Regions from separate parts of the Homo sapiens genome. Here regions 2 and 3 are each linked to region 1. Evidence: promoter capture Hi-C in 16 types of primary human blood cells and fetal thymus (Javierre and others, 2016). All regions are on one chromosome and are shown on one strand. The core of a region is centred on a gene start or on the middle of the fragment in contact, and the rest is flanking DNA. Distances in the headings are between cores, read along the strand shown. Region 1 holds the start of PFN4 (profilin family member 4). Region 2 overlaps ATAD2B (ATPase family AAA domain containing 2B). Region 3 overlaps ATAD2B (ATPase family AAA domain containing 2B).

Evidence for each region. Contacts are between HindIII fragments. The CHiCAGO score rates a contact against its expected background, and 5 or more counts as called.
Region 2: a fragment that was not itself captured here is called in contact with the fragment with the promoter of PFN4 in region 1 in 1 of 17 cell types (naive B cells); the score reaches 5.2 in naive B cells.
Region 3: a fragment that was not itself captured here is called in contact with the fragment with the promoter of PFN4 in region 1 in 1 of 17 cell types (naive B cells); the score reaches 5.6 in naive B cells.

Annotation. Positions count from the first base shown.
Region 1 is chr2:24,121,501-24,125,397 of GRCh38, reverse strand. PFN4 (profilin family member 4) reads left to right here and starts at 2,064. Exons shown (of 5, transcript NM_199346.3): 1 at 2,064-2,280; 2 at 2,851-2,979. The coding sequence starts at 2,863. FAM228B (family with sequence similarity 228 member B) reads right to left here and starts at 1,929. Exons shown (of 11, transcript NM_001145710.2): 1 at 1,865-1,929; 2 at 938-1,068. The coding sequence starts at 1,036. RefSeq lists an enhancer at 1,178-1,427 and a silencer at 1,498-1,997. The HindIII fragment of the contact is 10,311 bases long and covers 1-3,897 here.
Region 2 is chr2:23,790,105-23,794,001 of GRCh38, reverse strand. The region is part of intron 19 of ATAD2B (ATPase family AAA domain containing 2B); the gene reads left to right. Among named protein-coding and RNA genes, the nearest start is that of ATAD2B, 140 kb to the left of the region's middle. The HindIII fragment of the contact is 857 bases long and covers 1,463-2,319 here.
Region 3 is chr2:23,850,693-23,854,589 of GRCh38, reverse strand. The region is part of intron 13 of ATAD2B (ATPase family AAA domain containing 2B); the gene reads left to right. Among named protein-coding and RNA genes, the nearest start is that of ATAD2B, 74 kb to the left of the region's middle. RefSeq lists an enhancer at 3,543-3,592. The HindIII fragment of the contact is 4,900 bases long and covers 1-3,897 here.

The DNA of each region.
Region 1 (3,897 bases), core at 815-3,314:
TTGTACACTTTATTTGAGACAGGGTCTTATTCTGTCACCCAGGTGGGGATGCAGTGGCACAATCACAGCTCACTGCAGCCTCAAATTCCTGGGGTCAAGCAATCCTCCTGCCTCAGCCTCTCAAGCAGCTGGGACTATAGGTGTATGCTACCACACCTGGCTATTATTGTTCGTTCGTTTGTGGAGACAGGGTCTCAGTATATTGCTCTGCCTGGTCTAGATAGAACTCCTGGGCTCAAGCGACCCTCCCACCTCAGCCTCCCAACGTGCTGGGATTACAGGCATGAGGCACAGTGCCAGACACACACTTTAAATATATGCAGTTTACTGTATATCAATTACATCTTAATAAAGCTGTTTAGAAAAAAGAAACTACAATCTAAAAACAATATAACTGGCTGGGCGCAAGGGCTCACAGCTATAATCCCAGCATTTTGGAACACCACGGTAGGTGGATTGCTTGAGCTCAGGAGTTGGGGACCAGCCTAGGCGACACAGTGTAGAGATTTTTTGTATCTCTACAGAAAATACAAAAATTAGCCAGACATGGTGGCGTGCGCCTATACTTCCAGCTACTAGGGAGTGGAAGGATGGCTTGATTCCAGGAGGAAACATAGCAAGACCCTGTCTCAAATATAAATAAATAAATAAATACATCATATCAAAATTTGGGTGATGCAGCTAAGGCAGTACCTCAAGAGAAACTTATAGCTATGTTACATTTTAAAAGGTATATAATCAATGACCTATGATTCCACCTTAAGATGTTAGAAAAAAACAGCAAAGTGAATATACAAAGTTAGTAAAGTGAAGGGAATAATAAACAGAATGAAATAAAAACAAACAATAGAAAAAACAATATATTTAGCACAAGCCACTTCCTACTGCAACGATCCAAGTAAAAAAATCTCCAAATCCCACACTATTTGATATATACCTCCATAAAACAAAGGGGCTTGGGCTCCAACCATTCTTTTGAGCTCTTGAGCTTGGGAAGTGTGCCAGTTACCAGATCATCACTGTCTACATTTTTCATTGTGGTCACAAATAACAATGCCCCTGGAAAAACTAAAAATCATCTTATTTAGTATTGAACATTTCACAGTCATCTGATTTTCTCTTCTGTTTAATACCACCTGTGTCCTTGCACACACGCAAAATGGATTTTGAACACTAACCATCCAGTTTCCCTAACAAGAGGCCTTCACTACAGACTCCAGATGACGGCTTCAGAGCCAGCCTCCTTTATAAGCAGGCGAGATGCTCTTTGAAAGAATCCCCCGTCCCTTGGAATGGATTCCCACGTCCCCCTCCAAGGCAGCCCATTCCAGCCAGTGTGGCAGCTTCAGCCTGGCCTCTCGGAGTCCCATTTGCAACACTTTTCTGACTTTGGTGGCCTCGAGTGGGAAGAACTGCAACTTTCTGGCCACAGAAACACAGGCTGAGCTGCTTAGAGAAGGCAGGGAGGGGCTTTCGGTCATACTGCGCGAGTCTTCGAGCTCTGAGCGGCTCGAAGTCCTCCCCGAGGCACGGGTGCGACGGGGATGTCGTAGGCGTCCGCACCCGCTCTCGCTCATCGCGCCCACTCCCGGCCCTTCCTCCCACCCACTAGGCCGGGCGCCTGCGGCCTCCACGCCAGCCCCGGGCCGGGGGCCTCCCGCGCAGGCGCGTCGTGCGCGGGGACCGCCCGGCCTGGCGGGGAGGTCGCCGGCCGCGACAGGCACCTCTCTGCCCTCCCAAGGCCAGCAGGCCCGCGGCCGTCCTGCTACACACTCGGGCCCGGCCCGACGACCCCGGAGCCGTCCGACTGCGGCTGGAAGGGAGCCCGCCCGCGTCTGCGGAACGCGCGAATGTTGGCGCCCACCGTCTCCCGGACGCAGCGCCGCGCGAGCACTCCGCCCCCTGCGCCGCGGGTTCCACAGCGAGTCCGCGCGGGCGGTGCCGGGGCGGCGGAGGACGGCTTCAGGCCCAAAGGGGATTGGGCGGCGGCTCTAGGTGGCGGGTCTTGGTTTGCGGAAGGGGCTGGAGTCGCTGCTTCTCGGTGACCGGCGCGTGGCCCGGCCAATCCTGCCGCCGCCACCCACCCGCAACCGCGTCCGTTGACGGTCGGGTCCTTGGTCGCCGGGTCCTTGCGGGCACCACAGAGCGGGGTGGCGTCCGCTCCCTCGAGTCCTCGGTGCCAGGGAATTCACCGCTCACCACCCCCTGCCCCGCCTTGGGTCCTGCTCGGGGACCAAACCACTGGAAGGCAGTGGCGGGAAACGGGCGCCTGTGCCGGAGGTCCTGATGAGGGGGGTCCAAGGCTTGGGGACTTGTGCGGGAAATGTGGGTTTAAGTGCCTTCAAGGTGTTTTTAGTCCATTGGGATGTTGATCAGCGTTCATAGCTGGCGCTGATGCAGGTCACCGGGAAGGGAATGTGTGGGTTTATGGCCACGCATAATCTCTTTTAGTCGTGTTTAACTTAGCAGGGTAGCTCTCCATCCTGGCTGGGTTTTGTTTTTTGTTTTTATTTTTTATTTTACAGAGTTTTTCTCAGTGTGTAATGTTTGTTTTTAAATCGCAGATAATCCTGATGTAAACCATTGACATAGCCAGAAAATCACCAGGCTGTGATTTTCCAAACTCAGCTTCATAACCTATTCTGTGTGAGCTGTGATTTTTCTATGATTCTGTTTTCCTCTTTGGGTACTGGTGGGCCCTGAATGATGGACCACCGTTTTCACCCTGTACCTTTTCAAAGTACACTTGCTGATCTTAGAACTGTCTGCAGTGTCTTAAGGACATTTGTATTCACATGCCTTTTAAAAGCTAGCCAGAGTCAATGGCTTCAACTGCACTTTCCCTTTCAGAGTTGAGGGAACATGAGCCATTTGCAGAGCTTATTGTTAGACACCCTCTTGGGAACCAAGCATGTGGACAGTGCAGCCCTCATCAAAATCCAGGAGCGGAGCTTGTGTGTAGCATCACCAGGTTTCAATGTAAGAAAAAACAAGTTTGGACCTAAGACTTGATTTACTTATTATTTCTATTCTTCCAAAAAATGAAGCAGACATGACTTTTTTTTTTTTTTGAGACGGAATTTCACTCTTGTTGCTTAGCCTGGGATGCAATGGCATGATCTCAGCTCACTGCAACCTCCGCCTCTCAAGCGATTCTTGAGCCTTAGCCTCCCGAGTAGCTGGGATTACAGGAGTGCGCTACCAGGCCCGGCTAATTTTTGTATTTTTAGTAGAGATGGTGTTTTACCATGTTGGTCAGGCTAGTCTCAAACTCCTAACCTCAGGTGATCCACCTGCCTCGGCCTCCCAAAGTGCTGGGATTACAGGCATGAGCCACCGTGCCCAGCCCAGACATGACTTTTAAATGAACTTTTTCTGTAAAGAGCTACATAAATATTTTAGGTTTCTAGGCTTAGTCTTTTTACTGTTGATATAAAGGAATACCTGAAGCTGGGTAATTTATAAAGAAAAGAGGTTTATTTGGCTCACAGTTCTACTGCCTGGAAGACTGGTCATCTGTGAAAGCCTCAGGCTGCTTCCACTCATGGCAGAGGTGAAGGGGAGCCAGCATGTGCAGAGATCACAGTGGGGGAGAGGAAGCAAGAGAGAGCAAGTGGAGAGGTGCCAGGCTCTTTCTAAGAGCCAGCTCTCCTGGAACAAATACAGTGAAAACTCACAGCTTCCCCCAGCTCGCAGGGAGGGCATCAGTCTATTCATGATCCAAATACCTCCCATTAGGCCCCACCGAAAACGCTGGGAATCAGATTTCAACATGAGATTCAAACTATAGCACAGGGCCGTAGAGTCTCTGTCACAACCACTCAACTCTGCAATTGTAGAGGAAAAACAGCCATACATAAAAGAATGAATGTGACTGTGTTCCAATAAAATTTTATA
Region 2 (3,897 bases), core at 642-3,141, 330 kb after region 1:
TCGCTAAATTTTGTTTTATGTGTTTTATGTTCTTTCTATATTTTGGAAAAATATATTTTTCAAAAGAATATATGTTTTATTCTTTTAATGTTAGTGTTAATATCTAATGGGCTTATTTAAAATCTGTAAATATTGATGCATATAGCTCACATACATAAAAGCTTTTTTGGGGTCCTGAGACCAAAAAGTTTGTGCACCTCTGGTCTCTAGACCACTAGCACTTTCAGGTGTTACTGGCCATCATTTCTCCCATTCCTAGCACAGTGCTAACACATTGGAATTACTCTGTAAAAGTTTGCTGCATGAAAAAAGGAACTAACAGTTGAATCATCACGTAGGATTTAAGTAACCCTTGCCCAGCCTCACTCGCTTTCTGCATAATTCTTTCTTTTAAAATATTTTTTCTTTAAATTTTTGACCACTTGAGAACCATGCAGAATTGTAGTGTAAGTAAATTTACTTTTATAAACCCTTTCTGAAGATACTTGGAGAATTTTATTTGAGATATATGGGAATTGCAAGGTATTTATGGAGAATTAGAGAAGAGAGTTAATTTAAGGTTGAGCACAGAAAAAAGACTCTTAAGGGAGGAAGCAAATAAATTAGAGATATTTGTAGGAAGGAATGTAAACCTTGGCCAGAATTGTATTTCTGTTTCTGAAGACATTCACAGTATCTGCTTTGTTATTAAATTATTATGAGCAGGTTTAAGATTATATAATTCAGTATATTGGAAATGAATTTTAAAGAAATATTCCTCAGCTATGCTGATGAAAGTAAGATTACATATAGCATTTTGTTATCTTAAATGTTTCTTGTCATTGTCTCTCTAGGTTTATGGTAGGACCTGGGAGGGGAAAATCAGTAACTTCAATTAGAAAAATCAAGTAGGGGCATTGAAAACTCAGATTAATGATCATAAGATACAAGGGAACTGTTTTAATATTAATATTTTGGTAATAAAACAATTACGTGATTCTTAAAATTTAAGAGGAAGGAAATCTTCTCAAGTTTTTTTTTTTTTTTTTTTTTTTTTTTTGAGACAGAGTCTCTCGCTGTTGCCCAGGCTGGAGTGCAGTGGCACAATCTCGGCTCACTGCAAGCTCTGCCTCCCGGGTTCACGCCATTCTTCTGCCTAAGCCTCCTGGAGTAGCTGGGACTAAAGGCGCCCGCCACCACGCCCAGCTAATTTTTTGTATTTTTAGTAGAGAAGGGATTTCACTGTGTTAGCCAGTATGGTCTTGATCTCCTGACTTCGTGATCCACCCACCTCAGCCTCCCAAAGTGTTGGGATTACAGGTGTGAGCCACCGTGCCCGGCCACAAGTTTTTTTTCCCTAAGTGAAATAGGATAGTAGGTAAACATAGTTACTATTTTGAGATATGTAAACTATTTCTATTTTTATTTAATGGGTTGATATCCTATTTTGTTTTGAGCAAAGCAAATTTTATTTATGAAAGCTTTCTTAGGTTTATTTCTGACCTCTTTTTCACACCTTTTGTTATTGAGATCTTAAGTTCTTTTTTTTTTTTTTAGATCTTAAGTTCTTAACCATTAATTTTTCTTATTACAAAGGTTGCAGGAACCCTACCTTCAAAACTGGGGACTAACAATTCTAAGGAATGTGTTAATAAATTCGATAAAACAAAAAGGTTGGCCAGGTGCCATAGCTCATGCCTGTAATCCCAGCACTTTGGGAGGCTGAGGCTGGTGGATCACGAGGTCAGGAGATCGAGACCATCCTGGCCAACGTAGTGAAACCCCGTCTCTACTAAAAATACAAAAATTAGGCTGGGCGTGGTGGCACGCTGCTTGGGAGACTGAGGCAGGAGAATGGCGTGAACCCAGGAGGCGGAGCTTGCAGTGAGCCGAGATTGCACCACTGCACTCCAGCCTGGGCGACAGAGCAAGACTCCGTCTCAAAAAAAAAAAAAGATGGCTGTTATTAAAAAAAAACAGAAATTAACAAATGTTGATGAGGATGTGGAAAAAGGAGAACCTTTTTGCATTGCTGGTGGGAATGTAAAATTGTATAGCCACTGTGGAAAACAGTATGACATTATCTTAAATATATAAATGCCATATGATCCAGCCAATCAAGTTCTAGGTACTTACTCAAAAGAATTGAAAGCAGGGACTTGAACAGGTATTTGCACACCCATGTTCACAACAGCATCATTCATAGTAACCAAAAGGTGGAAACATCCTCAGTGTCCATTGATAGTTGAAAGGATAAACAAAATGTAGCATATACAATGGAACATTATTTAGCCTTAAAAAGGAGAAAATTTTGATGCATGTTGTAACATGGATGAAGCTTGAAGACATTATGCTAACTTAGTCATAGGACAAATTTTGTATAATTCCTTTTATATGAGGTTCCTTAGAGTATATGTAAATGGATGATAAGTGTATGAAAAGATGCTCATTATCAGTCATTCAGGAATGAAATACCACTGCAACCCACTAAAATATAGGTTGGGCAAGAGTAATTGCGTTTTTTGCCATTGAAAGCTGCAAAAAAAAAAAAAAAGTGCTTTTGCACCAACCTAATAGCTGTAATCAAAAATAAAGAATACCAAGTATTGGCAAGGATATAGAAACTGGAGTCCTTATATACTGCTGGTGGGATTGTAAAATGGTGCAGCCACTTTCCAAAGTTAAACATAAATTTATGGTATGACTCAGCAATTCCACTCCTAGTTATCTACACAAAAGAAATGAAAACATACTTTCACAGAAAGACATTTGTATGGGAATGTTTCTAGTTGTTGTACTCATACTAGCAAAAAGTGGAAACAATCCAAATGTTCCTTAATTGGTGAATGGCTAAACAAAATGTGATGAAATACTATTCAGCAATAAATGGAATGAAATACTAATACATACTACAACTTGGAAAAACCTGAAGTTTTAAGTGACAGAAGCCAGGCATAAAAGACTGTCAGTTGTATGATACAAAATGTCTAGAAGAGGCAATTCTCTAGAGACAGAAAGCATTATCAGTGGTTGTTAGGCTGGGACATGGGAGTGGGAGTGGGGATTGACTGCAGATAGGCCTGAGGAAACTTTTTGGGGTAATGGAAATGTTCTAAAATGTGCTTGTGATGGCTACACATCTGTAAAAATTTACTGAACATTATTGAACTGTTTTTTCAGAAATATTGGAAGGTGTGCCTAAGTGCATCTGGGAAAGTTAGGGAAGGCATCACACAGAAAGCATCAGCTTGAGTGGTGCATTAAAGAAGGGGTCAGGAATGAGTGAATACTATGTATCACAACCAGTGTGAACCAATGTGAAACAGAGCGTGATTTGTTCTGGGAATTATGGAAGGCTTGTCTTTGGTACACCATGAAGTTTGAGGCTAGGACTGTCAGAAGATAAAGTTAGGAGTGAACTTAGAGAAGTATAATTTATCCCACTTATAAAATGTTGGATTCTAAGGTGTTGGTAGTAACCTGGTAAGAATATCCATGGATTATTGTAGGCCTGTTCTTGGTATGCTTTTGTATTCATAAAGTGTTAACATAGTATTGAAAATTATCAGAGAAAATAGTTAAAATGAAATGTTTTGCCATTCTTGAACGAAATCGTGGTACGTCTAGGATATTAAGTTCTACTTATTTTTCAAGACCCAATTGATATAAGTGATTTCTGGTACATCTTACCTAGTGTCTTTTCACCCCTTGCAAGGTCTCTGCTCTGTTTTGCTACCTCTGTTACAGTACTCCCAGCATAGTATCATAATGCTTTTCTTCTGATACTCTAAAATCTTTGACAGCAGAGAACAAAGACATTTTCTTCAGTTTTATAACTGCAGTGTCTGGCATGATGTTTGACATACAAAGCATGTTCAGTAGTAAATTTACTTCCAGAACTTTCAAAGAAAGGCCATC
Region 3 (3,897 bases), core at 438-2,937, 270 kb after region 1:
TCTCCTGCCTTGGCCCCCCGAGTAGCTGGGATTACAGGTGCCTGCCACCACGCCTGGCTAATTTTTGTATTTTTAGTAGAGGTGGGGTTTCACCATATTGGCCAGGCTGGTCTAGAACTCCTGACCTCAGGTGATCCACCCACCTCGGCCTCCCAAAGTGTTGGGCTTACAGGCATGAGCCACTGTTCCCAGCCAGTGTTAGCTCTTAATATTTAAGTCAATGATTCATTTTACGTTAATGTTTGTGTATCAGTAAGAGGTGAGGGTTTAAGTTAATTTTTGTAGATAGTTTAAGGTATGGACTGAAGTTTATTTTTTTAATACAGGTATTCTTTTTTTTTCTTTGAGACGGAGTGTCACTCTGTTGCCCAGGCTGGAGTGCAGTCGCGCGATCTCAGCTCACTGTAGCCTCCACCTCCCAGGTTCAAGTGATTCTTGTGCCTCAGCCTCCTGAGTAGCTGGGATTACAGGTGTGTGCTACCATGCCTGGCGAATTTTTGTATTATTAGTAGAGGTATGTTTCACCATGTTGGCCAGGCTGGTCTCGAACTTCTGACCTCAGGTGATTCTCCTGCTTCGGCCTCCCAAAGTGCTGGTATTACAGGCATGAGCCACCATGCCCAGCCTATTTTTTTATACAGATACTCATTTGTTCCAGAACCATATATTGAAGAGTTTACTTTGTTAAATTTCTTGGCACGTCTTTGACAAAAATTGACCATATAAATGTGTGTCTATTTCTAGATTTGTTAGTTGATTCCATTGATCTACAGGTCTATCCTTATACCACTGTCTTGATTAATGTTCATTTTAGTATAAGTCCTCCAAATTTGTTCTTTTTCAGAATTGTTGTAGTCATCTATTATCTTTCCATTTACATTTCTAAAGCCTCTTGTCAGTTTCTTTAGAAAAGACTGTTGGGATTTATTTGGGATTGCAATTAATCCTTCGATCTATTTGGGAAGAATTGCATCCTTATTCGTCTTTCAGTCTATGAACATGGTAATTCTGTTCATTTATTTAGGTATTCTTTAATTTCCTTTTCCTGTGTCTTATGGTTTTAGCATAAGGATCTTAGGCATCTTTTGTTTAATGCATCCCTAAATACTTTATTGTTCATTTAATGTGAATGGAGTTTTGAAAGAAAATTTATTTTCTAATTGCTTACTGCTGGTTTATAAAAATACAACTGAGTTTATAGACTTTGTATCCACAACCTTGCTAAATTCATTTGTTAGTTCTATTAGCTATTTTGTGGTTTCCTTACGGTTTTATACATATACCTTATCTGCAAATAAAGGTACTTCTACTTCTTCCTTTCCAATCTATGTCTTTTATTTCTTTTTCTTATTTCTTTGGCTAGAATTCAGTTAAATAGTAATGGTGATAATGGAAATCACTGCCTGTTTCCTTCATTGGCTGTAAAACATTGAGACTTTAACCATTGAATGTGATTTTAACTAAGTTTTTCATAGGTGCCCTTTATTACATTGAGGGATTTCCACTATATTCCTAGTTTGCTGTGAGAGTTTATTTTACTGGGATAGAGTACTGAACTTTGTAACATATTTTTTTTTCTGTCTCTTTTGAATTGATCATATGGCTTTTCTCCTGTATTCTATTAAGGTAGAGCATTATTTTGATTGAATTTTAGATTTTTTTTTTTTTTTGGAGATGGAGTCTCGCTCTGTCGCCCATGCTGGAGTGCAATGGCGTGATCTCGGCTCACTGCAACCTCCACCTCCTGGGTTCAAGTGATTCTCTTGCCTCAGCCTCCCGAGTACCTGGCATTACAGGTGTCTGCCACCGTGCCTGGCTAATTTTTGTGTTTTTAGTAGAGACAGGGTTTCACCATGTTGGTCAGGCTTGTCTTGAACGCCTGACCTCAGGTGATCCACCTGCCTCGGCCTCCCGAAGTGCTGGGATTACAAGTGTGAGCCACTGCGCCTGGCCTGAATTTTAGATAGTAAACTAACTTTGCATTCTTAGAATAAACCTCACTTGCTCATAATATATTGTCTTTCTTAAAAAATTATTGGATTCCACTTGCTAATATAAAAAGTTTTATTATCTGTATTAATGAGATTTTGATCTGTAATTACTCTTAAAATATCTGCATCTGGTTTTGGAATCAGGTAATTTTGATGTGTATTAGATGAGATATACACTGGGTGTGATGGTGCATGCCTGTAATCTCAACACTTTGAGAGGCTGAGGCAGCAGGATCTCTTGAGTCTAGGAGTGCAAGAGCAGCCTGGGCAACATAGTGAGACCCTGTCTCTTAAAAAAAAAAAGATGAGATGGCATTCCCTCTTTCTCTATTTTCTGAAAGTGTTTGTGTAAGTTTGATGTTATTCATTTCTTAAGTGTTTGAGAGAATTCACCAGTGAAAATACCTGGGCCTGGAGTTTTGTTTATGGAAAGGTTTTTGATTACAAGTTAAATTTCTTCAGTTGATACAGGGCTGTTCAAGTTTTCTATTTATTCTTAGGTCAGTTTTGTTAGTTTGGTAGTTTATCTTTAAAGGAATTTGTTCATTTCACCTAAGTCAAGAAATTTACATACATTTTTTCCTACTATTCTGTTATCTCCTTAATGCCTAAATAGTCTGCGGTAGTATTCTTTTCATTTCCGATGGTGATAACCTGTGTTTTCTCTTTTTTTTTTTCTTGATTACTCCGGCTAGAGGATTATCAATTTTATTGGTCCTTTCTCCCCCAAAGAGGCAACTTCTGTTTTCATAGATTTTCTACTATTATTTTTGTTTCCAATTTTATACTACCTTTTTTCTTATATTTTTAAAAATTAGTAGACTGAGGGGGATTTGTAGGCAGAGTATAAAAGATTTTTTAGGGCAGTGAAAATAGTCTGTGTTATACTGTAAGAGTGGATCCACATCATGATATGTTTGTCCAAACCCATAGAATGTATATCATCAAGCGTGAACCTTAATGTAAACTGTGGACTTTGTAGATTGTGATGTGTCATTGTAGGTTCATCAGTTGAAATAAGTGCACCACTCTGTTGGGGCATGGGTATACATATGAAGGGGCAGGCGGGGGACGTATGAAAGTCTCTGTATTTCCTTCTCAATTTGGCTGTTAACCTAAAACTGCCCTAACAAATGGTCTTAAAAATAGACTATTCATGACTGGGCACAGTGGCTCACACTTGTAGTCCCAGCACTTTGGGAGGCCAAGGACAGTGGATCTCTTGAGCTCAGCAGTTTGAGACCAGCCTGGGCAATGTGGCAAAACCGTGTCTCTACTAAAAGTACAAAAATTAGTTGGGTGTGGTGTGCCTCTCGTCCTAGCTACTTGGGAGGCTGACGTGAGAGGATCACTTGAGCCTGGGGAGGTCAAGGCTGCAGTGAGCCACAATCGTGCCACCGAACTACAGCCTAGGTGAGAGAGTGAGGCCCTGTCTCAGAAAACAAAAAATCTCTATAAAACTGGGTAGCTTAGAAATAGCAGAACATTATTTGTCATATTTCTGGAGGCTGGGATGTCCAAGATCAGGGTGCCAGCAGATTTAGTGTCTGGTGAGGACCTGCTTTCTGGTTCTGATGACTTCTCTTGTGTCCTTAAATGGTAGAAAAGACCAGCTAGCTTTTTCAGGTCTCTTTTATGAAGGCAGGAATCCTCTTTATGAGGGTTTTGCCCTTGTGTCCTAATTACCTCCCAAAGGTTCCACCTCTTAACACTCTTAACACCTTAGCTCTTAACTCTTAATACCTCTTAACAACATTACATTGGTGATTAGGTTTCAATGTGTGAATTTTAGGGGAATAGAAACATTCCATTCATAGCAGGCAGTTTTAGGGTTTCAACAAATGTGTAATGACACGTATCTGCTCTTACAGTATCATACAGAATATTTTCACTTCCCCCAAATCGT